Linked DNA regions of Homo sapiens: regions 1, 2, 4 and 5 are each linked to region 3. The links are contacts of gene promoters, found by promoter capture Hi-C in blood cells and fetal thymus (Javierre and others, 2016). All regions are on one chromosome and are shown on one strand. The core of a region is centred on a gene start or on the middle of the fragment in contact, and the rest is flanking DNA. Distances in the headings are between cores, read along the strand shown. Region 1 overlaps BTN1A1 (butyrophilin subfamily 1 member A1). Region 2 has its middle 8.6 kb from the start of H1-2. Region 3 holds the start of H4C8 (H4 clustered histone 8). Region 4 holds the start of BTN2A1 (butyrophilin subfamily 2 member A1). Region 5 overlaps HFE (homeostatic iron regulator).

Region 1 (2,700 bases), core at 86-2,585, 230 kb after region 3:
CCTCCTGTTTCTCCCTTGCCTGGAAGTCATTCCACCCTCAATTTGTTGATCCACAAGTTTCCAGTTGTCCTCTTCTTTTTGTTATAGCATCTCTCTATTTCAAAGACATTCCTAGAAGTCATCCTTCAGTGATATCACCACTTGCTCAGTCACCATCTCAACCTTATGTCACCTCAGCCCTCATCTCAATGCCCAAACCCCTTACACACACCTTCAGTTAGCTTCAACTGCCTCCGTTTCCACACTGTGCACCTTTCACTTTCCCTACCCAGCTTTCCTACATGCTGCCTCTCCTCAGGGTCCCCTGAATGCTGCATCATTGTGTTCAGTGCAGCTGGACTGATTGCACCTGTGTATTTGCCCCTGAGCACTTTCCTTTACACATGTGGCTTGTCTTGCCAATAGACTCCAGGCTTATACCTTCCATTTCCATCGTATTCTCCAGTTTCCAGGATAGACGTTGCTCATCGTCTTTACCTAATAAATAAGTTTGTCTGATTGCTGAAAGCAACCTCTTAACCTTTCTTTTTTAATATCAACTGAAACAAAATAAAACATAGGGCAAGAAACCTGCATGGGAATGCAGCTGTCTAAAGCTTTGCCATTGTATGTGGTCTAAGACCCATCCCTAGGCCTGATGGCAGTGGGCTCACCAGGGCAGGTGCACATGGGGGCTGATGCCTCATGAGGGAACAACTGCTTACCAGGGTCTTCAAGCAGGAATACAGAATCTCAACTCAGGAACAATTTTTTATTAGTCCATCCTCATATTTCTGTAAAGAAATACCTGAGACTGGGTAATTTATAAAGATAAGAAGTTTAGGCCGGGCACGGTGGCTCATGCCTGTAATCCCAGCACTTTGGAAGGCCGAGGCGGGTGGATCACGAGGTCAGGAGTTTGAAACCAGCCTGACAAACATGGTGAAACCCCGTCTCTACTAAAAACACAAAAATTAGCCGGGTGTGGTGGCAGGCACCCGTAATCCCAGCTGCTCAGAAGGCTGAGGCAGGAGAATCACTTGAACCCGGGAGGCAGAGGTTGCAGTGAGCTGAGATCGCGCCACTGCACTCCAGCCTGGGTGACAGAGCAAGACTCCATTTAAAAAAAAAAAAAAAAAAAAGATAAGAAGTTTAATTGGCTCATAGTTATGTAGGCATGACAGCTTCTGCTCAGCTTCTGGGGAGGCCTCAGAAAATTTACAATCATGGCAGAAGGCGAAGGGGAAGCAGGCACATCTTACATGGCCATGGCAGAAGGAAGACAGCAGCAGGGACGGGGGAGGAGAGAGGGGGGAGCGGGGGATGTGCTACACACTCTTAAACAATCAGATGTCATAATTAGTCACTCATTCACTATCACAAAAATAGCATTGGCCGGGCATGGTGGCTCACGCCTGTAATCCCAGCACTTTAGAAGGCCGAGGCAGGCAGATCACCTGAGGTCAGGAGTTCAAGACCAGCCTAACATGGTGAAACCCCGTCTCTACTAAAAATACCAAAAAAATTAGCCGGGCTTGGTGGCACATGCCTGTAGTCCCAGCTACTTGGGAGGCTGAGGCAGGAGAATCGGTTGAACCTGGGAGGCAGAGGTTGCAGTGAGCCGAGATCATGCCACTCACTTCACTCCAGCCTAGGCGACAGAGAGAGACTCTGTCTCCCAAAAAAATAGCACTGAGGGGATGGTGCTAAACCACTCATGAGAAACCGCCCCCATGATCTAATTACCTCCCAACAGGCTGCACCTCCAACATTAGGGATTACAATTGAACATGGGATTTGGGTGGGGACTCAGATCCAAACTATATCAAATAATATCCAAAGATCACCCACCCCATTTTTTTTCTTTTAATTACAAGGCCTTAACATTAAAGATTTCCCAAATATTTCCTCCTCTTGCAAAAGTACTGTTAAAGAGTTGGCTTCACTTACCTATACCATTGACCAGGTTACCTTTACAGTAGTAGAAATGAAGTTCACCACCCAAACAGGGGCAGAGGGTAGGTAGCCATTGGCACTCTGGCCTTTTGGATAGCTGAACACACGGAGGTTTCTGGAGGGCAGTGTGTGCACAGAGAAAGCTTCGGAGCTGCATGCCCCTTCCCACACATCTTGCCCTGTACATATTTTCCATCTGTCTTTTCATCTGTATACTTTGTAATATCCTTTATAATAAATCAGTAAACATGTATTTGCAGGATAGGTTGGATAAAATCAAGAGTAAAGTCTATTGAAGGAAGGAGGAGGCTTAGTAGCATCAGTCCCCGGATTTAAAAGGGATGTTTGAACGAAACTGGGATTCCGAGAAGAGGAAAGAGAAGACTAAAAAAAGGAGCTAAAAGAAATTGCTCGATCTATTTATAATACATTATGATGTATTATGAAAGTAAATACCACTCTAATACTTTCAGAATACATTATAATCCTCCCTGCACTTACTTGCTTAAATCCAGCATCTATTTCTGCAATATTAAAATCCTCCAAAGCATTCTATTTCTTTTAGGGGCAAGTAGGCAGTGGAGAAGCTGTGAGCCTGCATTGCATTCTAGTGTGGGCCACAGAGAAGAGGACTCTCAAGTTGAAGAATGGATGGTATCAGCCAGAAAGAGGAAAATGGGCTTGTTTCTGGAGCTGAGGGGAGAGAAAAGGGGGTCAAATGGGAATTCGCTTGGGGTTATACATTACATTCAAGTGTGTATTTAG
Region 2 (2,827 bases), core at 232-2,731, 220 kb before region 3:
CTGTATCCAAGGTGTGTGCATACCTTTGATAGCAGGCAGGTGTGCCTAGCCAATATATTAGGAGCATGGTATTCCAGCACTCTGCACTTTTTTACTATAGAATTCATCTCAACCTGCTTACATTACATGAAAGTTTTGATTGATATCAAATTTTTATTATGTTTGCTTATCAAAGGATTTGTAATTATGCTTCAGTTGATACATAGATTGTTTATATTTTTCATGGTTACTTGAAGCACTTATATTTTCCTCATACTTTTACAAAGTAATCAAGGAAAAATACAGAGGCAGCTTAGTATATTAGTCAAAAGAATAATTAGACTGTCTTGGAACCTGGAATGTCTGAGTTCAAATTCAATTTTGCCGTTTTACCAGCTGTGTGACTTTGGGTGAGTTAATAAACCTTTTCGTGTCTCAGTGTTCTCACATGTAAAGAGACAATAATAAGCCTACCTGTTTCATGGGTCATTATGAGGATTAAGGAGTTAACATTTAAATAGTTCTTAGAACAACCTCTGACATATTTTAAGTACAAAAATATATACATATATTAAATAATAACTTTTCTAAAACATCCTACCTACAATCTTGTGTGCAAATTGGTGGCTCAATTCTGCAACTGTTGTTGGTGGTGTTGTTGTTAAGCTTTTGTTTGTCATGACTGTTATCAGTAATATTAATACAGACAGTTAACTGAACCCTTCCTCTGCACCAGGCATTATATGGACTATTTTCATTCTGACTCCCTGCATTCTATGAGACAACCACCATTGTAATCATTCTCACGTTGCCAATAAGGAAATGGAGAATGAGAATTCAGACTTCTCCAAGAAGTGCTGCAGACTGATTATAAATCATGCATCCTAAACACACACATATTAAAGTATCAACTAAATCAAACAGAATAAAACTTTTGTTTTTCTATCTACAAAATGCATGAATTAAAATATGCCCCAACTACTTAACTAATATATTTAGTAAGTAGAGGGATGGAAGCGTTTTCACTCCTTCAATACATTCTTCATCAACCTCTCTCACCTTACCCCTCTGTCACAGGCATTTCCTATGTCATGCGGTTTTTCTGATGTACGCTAGGTGGCAGTCAAAACCACGAACTCTTGAAAGAGAGTATATTCCTATTTTTCTGCAGCCTCAACCTCCAGGGCTCAAACGATCCTCCTGCCTCAGCCTCCTGAGTAGCTGGGGCCACAGGTGCGAGCCACCACACCTGGCTAACTTTTACATTTTTGATAGAGACGGGGTCGCCATGTTAGCCAGCCTGGTATCGAATTCCTGACCTCAGGTGATCTGCCCGCCTCAGCCTCCCAAAATGTTGGAATAACAGGAGTGAGCCACAGTACCTGGCCGGTAATTTTTAACTTCTAGCTATACACTTAGTTTTTTGTCCTTTTCAGTGGACAGAAATTATAATGCCTGTTTGACAGGGGATAATTCTGAGGCACTGGGAAGCCATGAGACTGCATGGATTGCACAGGCAGGCAAGAACATGGGAAGGAACAAGTGTCTTAGACACTTGTCTCAGTGGTCTAGAAAAATCATGCTAGCTGATTCATTCACTCCACAAACAACTGATCAACATCTTCAAGAAGCCTAACAATGTACTGAGTTCAGGGGACAAGAAAATAATTCAGACAGGCTCTACCTTCATGGTGGTGTTTGAAGAATAGGGATCTAGAAAACGGTAGGTAATAGTGGCTGTGCAAAAGATATCAGAGATGATATGAAAAGGAGGGACTAGACCATTTTACCCAGGAGTGGAGGTTAAACATAGGGTCTTTAAGGGAAACGTAAAAATATTAATTCTTTTCATTTTTGAAGTAAAATGACCATCGCTTCTCGGCCGTTTGGCTAAGAACAAGTGAAGTAAAATGACTGAGGATGACAGACATAAATACTGCTATACAAACATGGTAGCACTGAAATTGGCTCTTGCCTGACAGGAAGCAAAATTATAAAATTCATTATTTAGATATATCAATAATGATGGTGATCAGGCTGTAATAATAATGTTATTAATCATTATGTATCAATAAGAATACAGGTGTGTGACTTTACAATGTGCCTAAGAGCAACCCAATATTTTGATTGTAAACCACATTCCCTTAAACACACACACACCTCAAACAAGACCCCATAAAGCAGACTGCACTAAAGTGGAGGTTATGTAAAAGTCCAACAGAATAAGAACCCTCCCCCATTGTGTATTAATCTGTGAACTAAAAAAAAATTTCATTAAATTGAAAATATCTAATTGTCAACTAGCAATTTTAAAGAGTTTAGGCAGAAAATGAAATATAAAGCTTTTTTTTAACTTTTAGATTTTTCAAAGCTAGCAGAACTGCTGAAGAATAACAATTCAAAACATAGGTTTGCTTTGGTTTCAATCTCTGTAGCCAAAGGCATTTACAATGTAGGATGTTGTTTGTGCTTTCAGACACTAGATGACGCTCCAAATCAAAATGCCGGTAGTTGGACAGCCCCTGATCAAGCCGCCCGGCAAATCATTAACTGGGTTGACACTGTATTACTCAGCAGATTTCAAAACTCATTCACATACAGAGTCTTTTGGTGGACAAAAATAATTATTACCCACAATTGACAGTGACAGTACTGAGAAGCTGGGAAACTGAAGTAGGACCCTGGAGCAGCCAAGTACAGAGACTGGCTCCCAGGACCTTAGGAGTTAATACTATTCCTAAAGAGAATAAATTGTCAAATAGACAAGAAATTCATGTGGGTTGATGCATTCACTTCCCCAAAACAATTATTAAGCAGTAGAAATGATAACTACGCTGGTAGTGGAAAT
Region 3 (2,828 bases), core at 314-2,813:
AAGTTCCAGTGAGCCGAGATCACGCCACTTCACTCCAGCATGGCGAAGGTGAGACTCCGCCTCAAAAAAGGAAAAAAAAAGCCAATCCAAATCTCCTACAAGTTTGGTCTCTAGCAAATCATTGTCCTGATGCCTGAATGTGTACTTTTTCAAAAGGCGATCATTGCTGGTTAAGAATTTAAGTTTTCGTGGCCGGGCGCAGTGCCTCATGCCTGTAATCCCAACACTTTTGGGAGGTCGAGGCGGGTGGATCACGAGATCAGGAGTTCGAGACCAGCCTGGCCAACATGGTGAAACCCCATCTCTACTAAAAACACAAAAATTAGGCGGGCGGCTGTAATACCAGCTATTCAGGAGGCTGAGGCAGGAGAATCGCTTGAAACTGTAAGGCGGAGGTTGCGGTGAGCCGAAATCGCGCCACTGCACTCCAGCCTGGATGAAAGAGCAAAACTCCGTCTCAACAACAACAAAATAAGTTATGGTGATGTTTCTATATTGCTCACTAAGCGGTACCCTACCTTTTAATATTTTCGTAATATTCAAAAACACATTTTAAGTCTATTGGAAACAATACTTGCAAGCTCTCAAGTGAACATTTATATTGTTACCCCACACTGCCTTTTGTAGACGAGTTTTGTCACCAAGTCAAAAGCAGCAGCGCGCACGCCGCCTGGACTTGGGTCTGCGATCCTACTCACGCAGATGTGTTGCGCTCACGGATTCGCCTTGGTTTAAGGCCCGCCGTCTGGGTGCGAGCTTTCTTTGTTTTTAGCCCTTCCCGCCATTTTGGAAAGGGTAACTTGCAGTCTCTCCGCGAAGTTTCCAACTTCTGTAGTCTTTGAGAACCTTACGAACGCTTCAAGCTTAAACTGAAGGAGGAAGGCCCACGGGAATTATAAACTGTCACAATCCAGCTTACTCACTGATATCTAGTGTTAAAATGCCACAAGAAAGCTAAACATATTCAACATACCAACTTCCCTCAAGCAGAAAACAGTGGCTTTAAGTACTTTATGCCCAAATCCTAAACATGCGAGATTAAGCACGAGTAATTAAACGTTACCTGCAAATCTACACATGTGCACAGTAACTACTTCTCAGCAAAAATCTGGAACAAAGCAGGATAACAAGATGTCTGCTCTTTTATGAAAAAAGTGGGCGGCCCTGAAAAGGGCCTTTGGTTGAAAATGAAAATAAGAGTGCAGCAAGCAGGAGCCTTAGCCACCGAAGCCGTAAAGAGTGCGTCCCTGTCGCTTCAGCGCGTAGACCACATCCATTGCTGTCACGGTCTTGCGTTTGGCGTGCTCTGTGTAAGTGACAGCGTCACGAATCACGTTCTCCAGGAACACCTTCAGAACACCACGAGTCTCCTCATAGATAAGGCCAGAAATTCGCTTGACACCGCCGCGACGAGCAAGGCGCCGGATAGCTGGCTTAGTGATGCCCTGGATGTTATCGCGCAAAACCTTGCGATGACGCTTAGCTCCTCCCTTACCCAAACCTTTTCCACCTTTACCACGGCCAGACATGACTAAGCAACTTCTAAAACCAACTTAAGAAACCTAAACGCCAAGGCAAAGCAACGCCCTTATATGCCGGGAATTCGGACCTAATTGAAGACTGAAAGCGCGCATACCGGAACTTTGGTCCTGCTTCTTGGCCCCACCCCGCATAGCCCAGCCCTGGATGACGTCACCAACGACTCCAGCCTTTGGCATCTGAGCGCCGGCTCCGCGGAGGCGTCTCTTGCAATTGCTGGGAAATAGGAATGAGAGTTTTAAGGCTGTTTTAACAACCAAATCAGATTAAATAAATTAACATGTTTAAATTGTTATCAATTGTTCCTTCAGTTGCTTTAGGACGATTGGAGAGGAGCCTCGGTCCACAAGACCGGAAGCCTGAGGAGTGCAGCTTTGTCCCCAAGGTCACAGTGACTGGCTTTCTGCTGCCGGCTGTAAAGCACATGCGGACCGAAACCCCCCTTCGGAAGTGTTTGAAAACTGCAAGATTTCACCCTCTCCATCACCAAGCCAAGGGAAACATAACCAAAAGGGTTTTCTTCCCGATGGCGAAGGCATGATAGGTTAGTGATTCGTGGTAGAATTATTGCCCTCCGCGCGGAGGCCTGATTCTATTCCCAGTTTGTTCTCTTCTTTCCCTGCTTATTAAAATTTGTAATTGCCATTTAAATATCTAACTGCCCCTCACAACTGCACCCAGTGTGTAGGTTTCGGGGTGGGGGTTTTTTTTTTTCCTTTTTTTAATTTTATTGAGACAGGGTCTCGCTATGTTGCCTGCCTGGGTCTTCCAAAGTGCAGTGACTACAGGCGTGAGCTACCGCGCCTAGCCCACCAGTGTATTGATATTTATTTTTCTATCCCTAGTTTTGTTTTCTGTTTGATTCTGGTGATTCCTTTTTCCAAAGTGAGTTGGCAACCTGTGGTAGCCAAAGAAGTAGGCAACTGCTCGTAGGTTTTTTCTTAAATTACGAGGTAGTCTGAACGCATCTCCTGTAAGTAGTTAAGAGTACTGTGAGACCGTGTGCCTGGCAGAACAGCAGAGTGGCGCAGCGGAAGCGTGCTGGGCCCATAACCCAGAGGTCGATGGATCGAAACCATCCTCTGCTAGGTCCTTTTTTTTTCTCCCCCCCCGTCTATTTTCCTGAGGATCCCTTTTTTTTAAGTTACAGTTTTTTAGGTTAAACAATGACGAAAGAAAACAAAATGAACCCGAGTATTTCTTTAATTCCAGAATTACAAGCATTTCCGGGAAATAATGTGAAACTACAATCTCTGCATGTACAATTTTGATTTTCATGGACACCCAAG
Region 4 (2,700 bases), core at 52-2,551, 170 kb after region 3:
TGAACAACAGCTAAGAGCAGAGCTTAGAGCTTAGAGCTGGGCCCTGTAAGGTGAGAGGAATCACATCCTGCAGAAGTCTGTCCTGAGAAGCAGGTACTCCTGTCACAGCAGAGACACAGTGGATACCTGAGTAACAATAATACAAGACAGGACGTGGGAACAGCAAAAGATTTGGGTGTCAGAAGAGGCCGAGAACACTTCAGGCAGGAACATTCAGAGTTGTTCTTGGAGGAAGTAGGCACGAAGGCTGGGCAGGATTTCACGGGGCAGAGATGGAGCAAGCAATTGAAATGAAAGCCATGGCATGGGAAAAGGAGCACTGGCCACAGGGAGTGCAACGTTGTGATGCAAGGCCACTGTGGAGCCATTGCTAGCGTATTAACTGCAAAGTTTTGAATTGAATCAGAAGGGAATTGGAGGCCTCCAGACTAAGCATTTAGACACTTGAGGGGAATATTGACAACTGGGCCTCGGGAAGATTATTCTGGAAGATATCTTTACAATTACAAGATTGGAGCCTTTGGGAGAGGGATGATGTTTACGGGAGGATGGTATGTGTGCTAGTGTGTGTGTCTGTGTGTGGCTCTTGGACCCAACCTGACCACCTACTATCTAGAAGGTGAAGGACAACTAGAAAGTTTTGCTCAATTCCATCTTCTGCCACCACCAGAATGCCACCTCCCTGAGGGAAAAGGTTTTTGATCCTCAGTCAGGATTCTCAGCACCTCTTATCCGATAGCTTTGGAATGAATGGCAAGGCCTTCATAACAGCCACTGCAACTGCTGTCTCCTTTCCTTTGCTACCCCTCCCGCTCCAGCCATGCCAGCTTCCCCCAAGCCCTCCTGCGCTCCAGGCCCAACCTCCAAAGCCAGCAACTTGAACAGGAGTCCTCTGGCTTTGGAAAGGGGGCGGCTTACGTTTTCCTGCTCATGTTTCCTCCCCAGCAAAATTGCCCTCTACATAGAGAGGCCTCTCCTTGTGGACACCAGCAAAGCCACCGACCTCAGTGACAAACCCCAGGGAATCTCCCCAAGGAATCTCAAAGCGAGAGAGAGAGAGAGAGTCTTGAGAGAGAAAGAGAGAGAGAGAGAGTCTTGCTTTCGAACAAAGAAAAAGGAAATAAAAAGACCCGATAATCTCAAAAGGTTATTTGCTGCTTGAAATTTGTGATTCGGTGTATTCTACCCAGCAACTGCTGAGAAATAAGGTTCGACACCATTGGCTGGTTCACTCACACCCGGCCAATCCTGGGCTCTAAAATACTTAGGGAACTCTTGGGACTGTGGAAGCCCAGGAGACCAGATTTCGTTTCCTGCATCTCCAAACATGGCGACCTAGGAGAAGGGGAAGAACAATTTTTTCTCCTCTTTTGGGAAGGTTTGTGTCTAGTAGTGCCTGTGCCCCTGGGCAGATTGGAGAGAAGAGGGACGACTGGAGAATCGTCGAGAACCAGCGGAGAAAAGAAAAAGCAACGTTTAATTCTAGAAGGTAGGAAACGGAGGGGAGGCGCTACAGCTCCGGGGTGGGCACAGTAGGTGGGGGAAGCGGGGTCTGCTGTGGACACGAGACGGGGTCCTGGGACAGGGAAAGCCCACCGGTGGGGAGGCGCGGCCTCGCCTGTCTTTGCCTCAGGCTGCCCGGCCTGGGTCGCGGGGAGGAGGAAGTGAAGGGAGGAGGGTGTGGTAGAATCCAGCGACAACTGAAGAAACTGCATTCTGGCCAGAGAAGTGAGCCGAGGAGGGCGGAAAAAGGCCCCCTTGATCTTGGCATTGATGGCTTACTTCATGGAATGTTTAAGGAATCCCTCTCTCGGGACATACCTGAGCCTTCGGATGCAGGGGACTCCCTGAAGTTGGGGCACTGATGAGACCTACTTGAGTGACGGGAGAGGTTGGGCCCGACCAGCACTGAGGTGCCAAGACTCCTAGGCTGATTCTCCTCTGTAACCCTAGGCCTCCTGTCCCTGCCTGCTCTGGGTGCTCATGGAATCAGCTGCTGCCCTGCACTTCTCCCGGCCAGCCTCCCTCCTCCTCCTCCTCCTCAGCCTGTGTGCACTGGTCTCAGGTAGGGATGTGTGCCACTTGCTGCTGTCACCTATCAGAAAGGAACATCAACCCTGTAGTCTGCAAAGGGAAAGAAAGAAGGACTGTGGAGTTGTTGACTTACCCTTTCATTCTGAACATGTTCATTGAATTTATACCAGCACTGTCCAAAAGGAATACAGTGAGGCACAAAGGCCGAGTGCATGTACAATTGCAAATTTTCAAAAAAAATTAAATTTTACTTTTTATTTTAAAAAGTAAAAAGAAACATGAAATAAATTTGTATACTATATTTTGTTTCGCCCCAAATAATCAAATACGAATATTTAAATACTTAGTTAATATACCATATTACCAATGAGATAGTCAACATTTTGAAATTTTAAATCTTCATAATCCTGTGTGTATTTTACACTTACAGCTCATTTCAGTTGGAACTAGCTAGTGGATATGTGTCCTATTGCACGGCTCAAGTTTACAGTACACTCAGGCACAGCACTAGATTGGGAAATCGAGGAAAATCCCCTCAAGGGCACAGGGTGGACAGAGGGTGCTCAGGGCAGGTTCCTCAGGGTTTCCTTCATGAAGCAGAAGCACACTTTATAGTTACTGCTCCCAGGGGTGCTGTCGACTAGCCACAGCTACTGGTCCCCAGAT
Region 5 (2,780 bases), core at 153-2,652, 190 kb before region 3:
AGACAACAGTACCGAGGGCTACTGGAAGTACGGGTATGATGGGCAGGACCACCTTGAATTCTGCCCTGACACACTGGATTGGAGAGCAGCAGAACCCAGGGCCTGGCCCACCAAGCTGGAGTGGGAAAGGCACAAGATTCGGGCCAGGCAGAACAGGGCCTACCTGGAGAGGGACTGCCCTGCACAGCTGCAGCAGTTGCTGGAGCTGGGGAGAGGTGTTTTGGACCAACAAGGTATGGTGGAAACACACTTCTGCCCCTATACTCTAGTGGCAGAGTGGAGGAGGTTGCAGGGCACGGAATCCCTGGTTGGAGTTTCAGAGGTGGCTGAGGCTGTGTGCCTCTCCAAATTCTGGGAAGGGACTTTCTCAATCCTAGAGTCTCTACCTTATAATTGAGATGTATGAGACAGCCACAAGTCATGGGTTTAATTTCTTTTCTCCATGCATATGGCTCAAAGGGAAGTGTCTATGGCCCTTGCTTTTTATTTAACCAATAATCTTTTGTATATTTATACCTGTTAAAAATTCAGAAATGTCAAGGCCGGGCACGGTGGCTCACCCCTGTAATCCCAGCACTTTGGGAGGCCGAGGCGGGTGGTCACAAGGTCAGGAGTTTGAGACCAGCCTGACCAACATGGTGAAACCCGTCTCTAAAAAAATACAAAAATTAGCTGGTCACAGTCATGCGCACCTGTAGTCCCAGCTAATTGGAAGGCTGAGGCAGGAGCATCGCTTGAACCTGGGAAGCGGAAGTTGCACTGAGCCAAGATCGCGCCACTGCACTCCAGCCTAGGCAGCAGAGTGAGACTCCATCTTAAAAAAAAAAAAAAAAAAAAAAAGAGAATTCAGAGATCTCAGCTATCATATGAATACCAGGACAAAATATCAAGTGAGGCCACTTATCAGAGTAGAAGAATCCTTTAGGTTAAAAGTTTCTTTCATAGAACATAGCAATAATCACTGAAGCTACCTATCTTACAAGTCCGCTTCTTATAACAATGCCTCCTAGGTTGACCCAGGTGAAACTGACCATCTGTATTCAATCATTTTCAATGCACATAAAGGGCAATTTTATCTATCAGAACAAAGAACATGGGTAACAGATATGTATATTTACATGTGAGGAGAACAAGCTGATCTGACTGCTCTCCAAGTGACACTGTGTTAGAGTCCAATCTTAGGACACAAAATGGTGTCTCTCCTGTAGCTTGTTTTTTTCTGAAAAGGGTATTTCCTTCCTCCAACCTATAGAAGGAAGTGAAAGTTCCAGTCTTCCTGGCAAGGGTAAACAGATCCCCTCTCCTCATCCTTCCTCTTTCCTGTCAAGTGCCTCCTTTGGTGAAGGTGACACATCATGTGACCTCTTCAGTGACCACTCTACGGTGTCGGGCCTTGAACTACTACCCCCAGAACATCACCATGAAGTGGCTGAAGGATAAGCAGCCAATGGATGCCAAGGAGTTCGAACCTAAAGACGTATTGCCCAATGGGGATGGGACCTACCAGGGCTGGATAACCTTGGCTGTACCCCCTGGGGAAGAGCAGAGATATACGTGCCAGGTGGAGCACCCAGGCCTGGATCAGCCCCTCATTGTGATCTGGGGTATGTGACTGATGAGAGCCAGGAGCTGAGAAAATCTATTGGGGGTTGAGAGGAGTGCCTGAGGAGGTAATTATGGCAGTGAGATGAGGATCTGCTCTTTGTTAGGGGGTGGGCTGAGGGTGGCAATCAAAGGCTTTAACTTGCTTTTTCTGTTTTAGAGCCCTCACCGTCTGGCACCCTAGTCATTGGAGTCATCAGTGGAATTGCTGTTTTTGTCGTCATCTTGTTCATTGGAATTTTGTTCATAATATTAAGGAAGAGGCAGGGTTCAAGTGAGTAGGAACAAGGGGGAAGTCTCTTAGTACCTCTGCCCCAGGGCACAGTGGGAAGAGGGGCAGAGGGGATCTGGCATCCATGGGAAGCATTTTTCTCATTTATATTCTTTGGGGACACCAGCAGCTCCCTGGGAGACAGAAAATAATGGTTCTCCCCAGAATGAAAGTCTCTAATTCAACAAACATCTTCAGAGCACCTACTATTTTGCAAGAGCTGTTTAAGGTAGTACAGGGGCTTTGAGGTTGAGAAGTCACTGTGGCTATTCTCAGAACCCAAATCTGGTAGGGAATGAAATTGATAGCAAGTAAATGTAGTTAAAGAAGACCCCATGAGGTCCTAAAGCAGGCAGGAAGCAAATGCTTAGGGTGTCAAAGGAAAGAATGATCACATTCAGCTGGGGATCAAGATAGCCTTCTGGATCTTGAAGGAGAAGCTGGATTCCATTAGGTGAGGTTGAAGATGATGGGAGGTCTACACAGACGGAGCAACCATGCCAAGTAGGAGAGTATAAGGCATACTGGGAGATTAGAAATAATTACTGTACCTTAACCCTGAGTTTGCGTAGCTATCACTCACCAATTATGCATTTCTACCCCCTGAACATCTGTGGTGTAGGGAAAAGAGAATCAGAAAGAAGCCAGCTCATACAGAGTCCAAGGGTCTTTTGGGATATTGGGTTATGATCACTGGGGTGTCATTGAAGGATCCTAAGAAAGGAGGACCACGATCTCCCTTATATGGTGAATGTGTTGTTAAGAAGTTAGATGAGAGGTGAGGAGACCAGTTAGAAAGCCAATAAGCATTTCCAGATGAGAGATAATGGTTCTTGAAATCCAATAGTGCCCAGGTCTAAATTGAGATGGGTGAATGAGGAAAATAAGGAAGAGAGAAGAGGCAAGA

What was found. Contacts are between HindIII fragments. The CHiCAGO score rates a contact against its expected background, and 5 or more counts as called.
Region 1: a fragment that was not itself captured here is called in contact with the fragment with the promoter of H4C8 in region 3 in 1 of 17 cell types (M2 macrophages); the score reaches 5.7 in M2 macrophages.
Region 2: a contact is called between a fragment that was not itself captured here and the fragment with the promoter of H4C8 in region 3, in 2 of 17 cell types (monocytes and naive CD4 T cells). The highest score is 7.5, in monocytes.
Region 4: the fragment with the promoter of BTN2A1 here is called in contact with the fragment with the promoter of H4C8 in region 3 in 11 of 17 cell types (naive B cells, non-activated CD4 T cells, M0 macrophages and 8 more); the score reaches 8.0 in naive B cells.
Region 5: a contact is called between a fragment that was not itself captured here and the fragment with the promoter of H4C8 in region 3, in 1 of 17 cell types (monocytes). The highest score is 5.3, in monocytes.

What each region holds. Positions count from the first base shown.
Region 1 is chr6:26,509,919-26,512,618 of GRCh38, forward strand. It overlaps BTN1A1 (butyrophilin subfamily 1 member A1), which reads left to right. Exons shown (of 8, transcript NM_001732.3): 8 at 1-507. The region is part of intron 1 of LOC107986583 (a long non-coding RNA gene); the gene reads right to left. Among named protein-coding and RNA genes, the nearest start is that of TRL-CAG1-7, 9.9 kb to the right of the region's middle. The HindIII fragment of the contact is 1,482 bases long and covers 595-2,076 here.
Region 2 is chr6:26,063,622-26,066,448 of GRCh38, forward strand. No RefSeq gene overlaps it. Among named protein-coding and RNA genes, the nearest start is that of H1-2, 8.6 kb to the left of the region's middle. RefSeq lists a silencer at 1,006-1,145. The HindIII fragment of the contact is 1,676 bases long and covers 644-2,319 here.
Region 3 is chr6:26,283,971-26,286,798 of GRCh38, forward strand. It overlaps H4C8 (H4 clustered histone 8), which reads right to left and starts at 1,564. Exons shown (of 1, transcript NM_003543.4): 1 at 1,156-1,564. The coding sequence starts at 1,529. The coding sequence ends at 1,218. It overlaps TRX-CAT1-2 (tRNA-iMet (anticodon CAT) 1-2), which reads left to right and starts at 2,556; the gene lies at 2,556-2,627. It overlaps LOC124901287 (a long non-coding RNA gene), which reads left to right and starts at 1,710. Exons shown (of 2, transcript XR_007059520.1): 1 at 1,710-2,083. RefSeq lists enhancers at 405-1,140, 849-2,048, 1,141-1,876, 1,255-1,414, 1,565-1,954 and a silencer at 2,295-2,344. The HindIII fragment of the contact is 3,784 bases long and covers 862-2,828 here.
Region 4 is chr6:26,456,654-26,459,353 of GRCh38, forward strand. BTN2A1 (butyrophilin subfamily 2 member A1) reads left to right here and starts at 1,302. Exons shown (of 8, transcript NM_007049.5): 1 at 1,302-1,489; 2 at 1,954-2,065. The coding sequence starts at 1,984. RefSeq lists enhancers at 913-1,172, 1,333-1,492. The HindIII fragment of the contact is 11,033 bases long and covers 1-2,700 here.
Region 5 is chr6:26,091,357-26,094,136 of GRCh38, forward strand. It overlaps HFE (homeostatic iron regulator), which reads left to right. Exons shown (of 6, transcript NM_000410.4): 3 at 1-233; 4 at 1,329-1,604; 5 at 1,763-1,876. Among named protein-coding and RNA genes, the nearest start is that of HFE, 5.3 kb to the left of the region's middle. The HindIII fragment of the contact is 3,702 bases long and covers 1-2,780 here.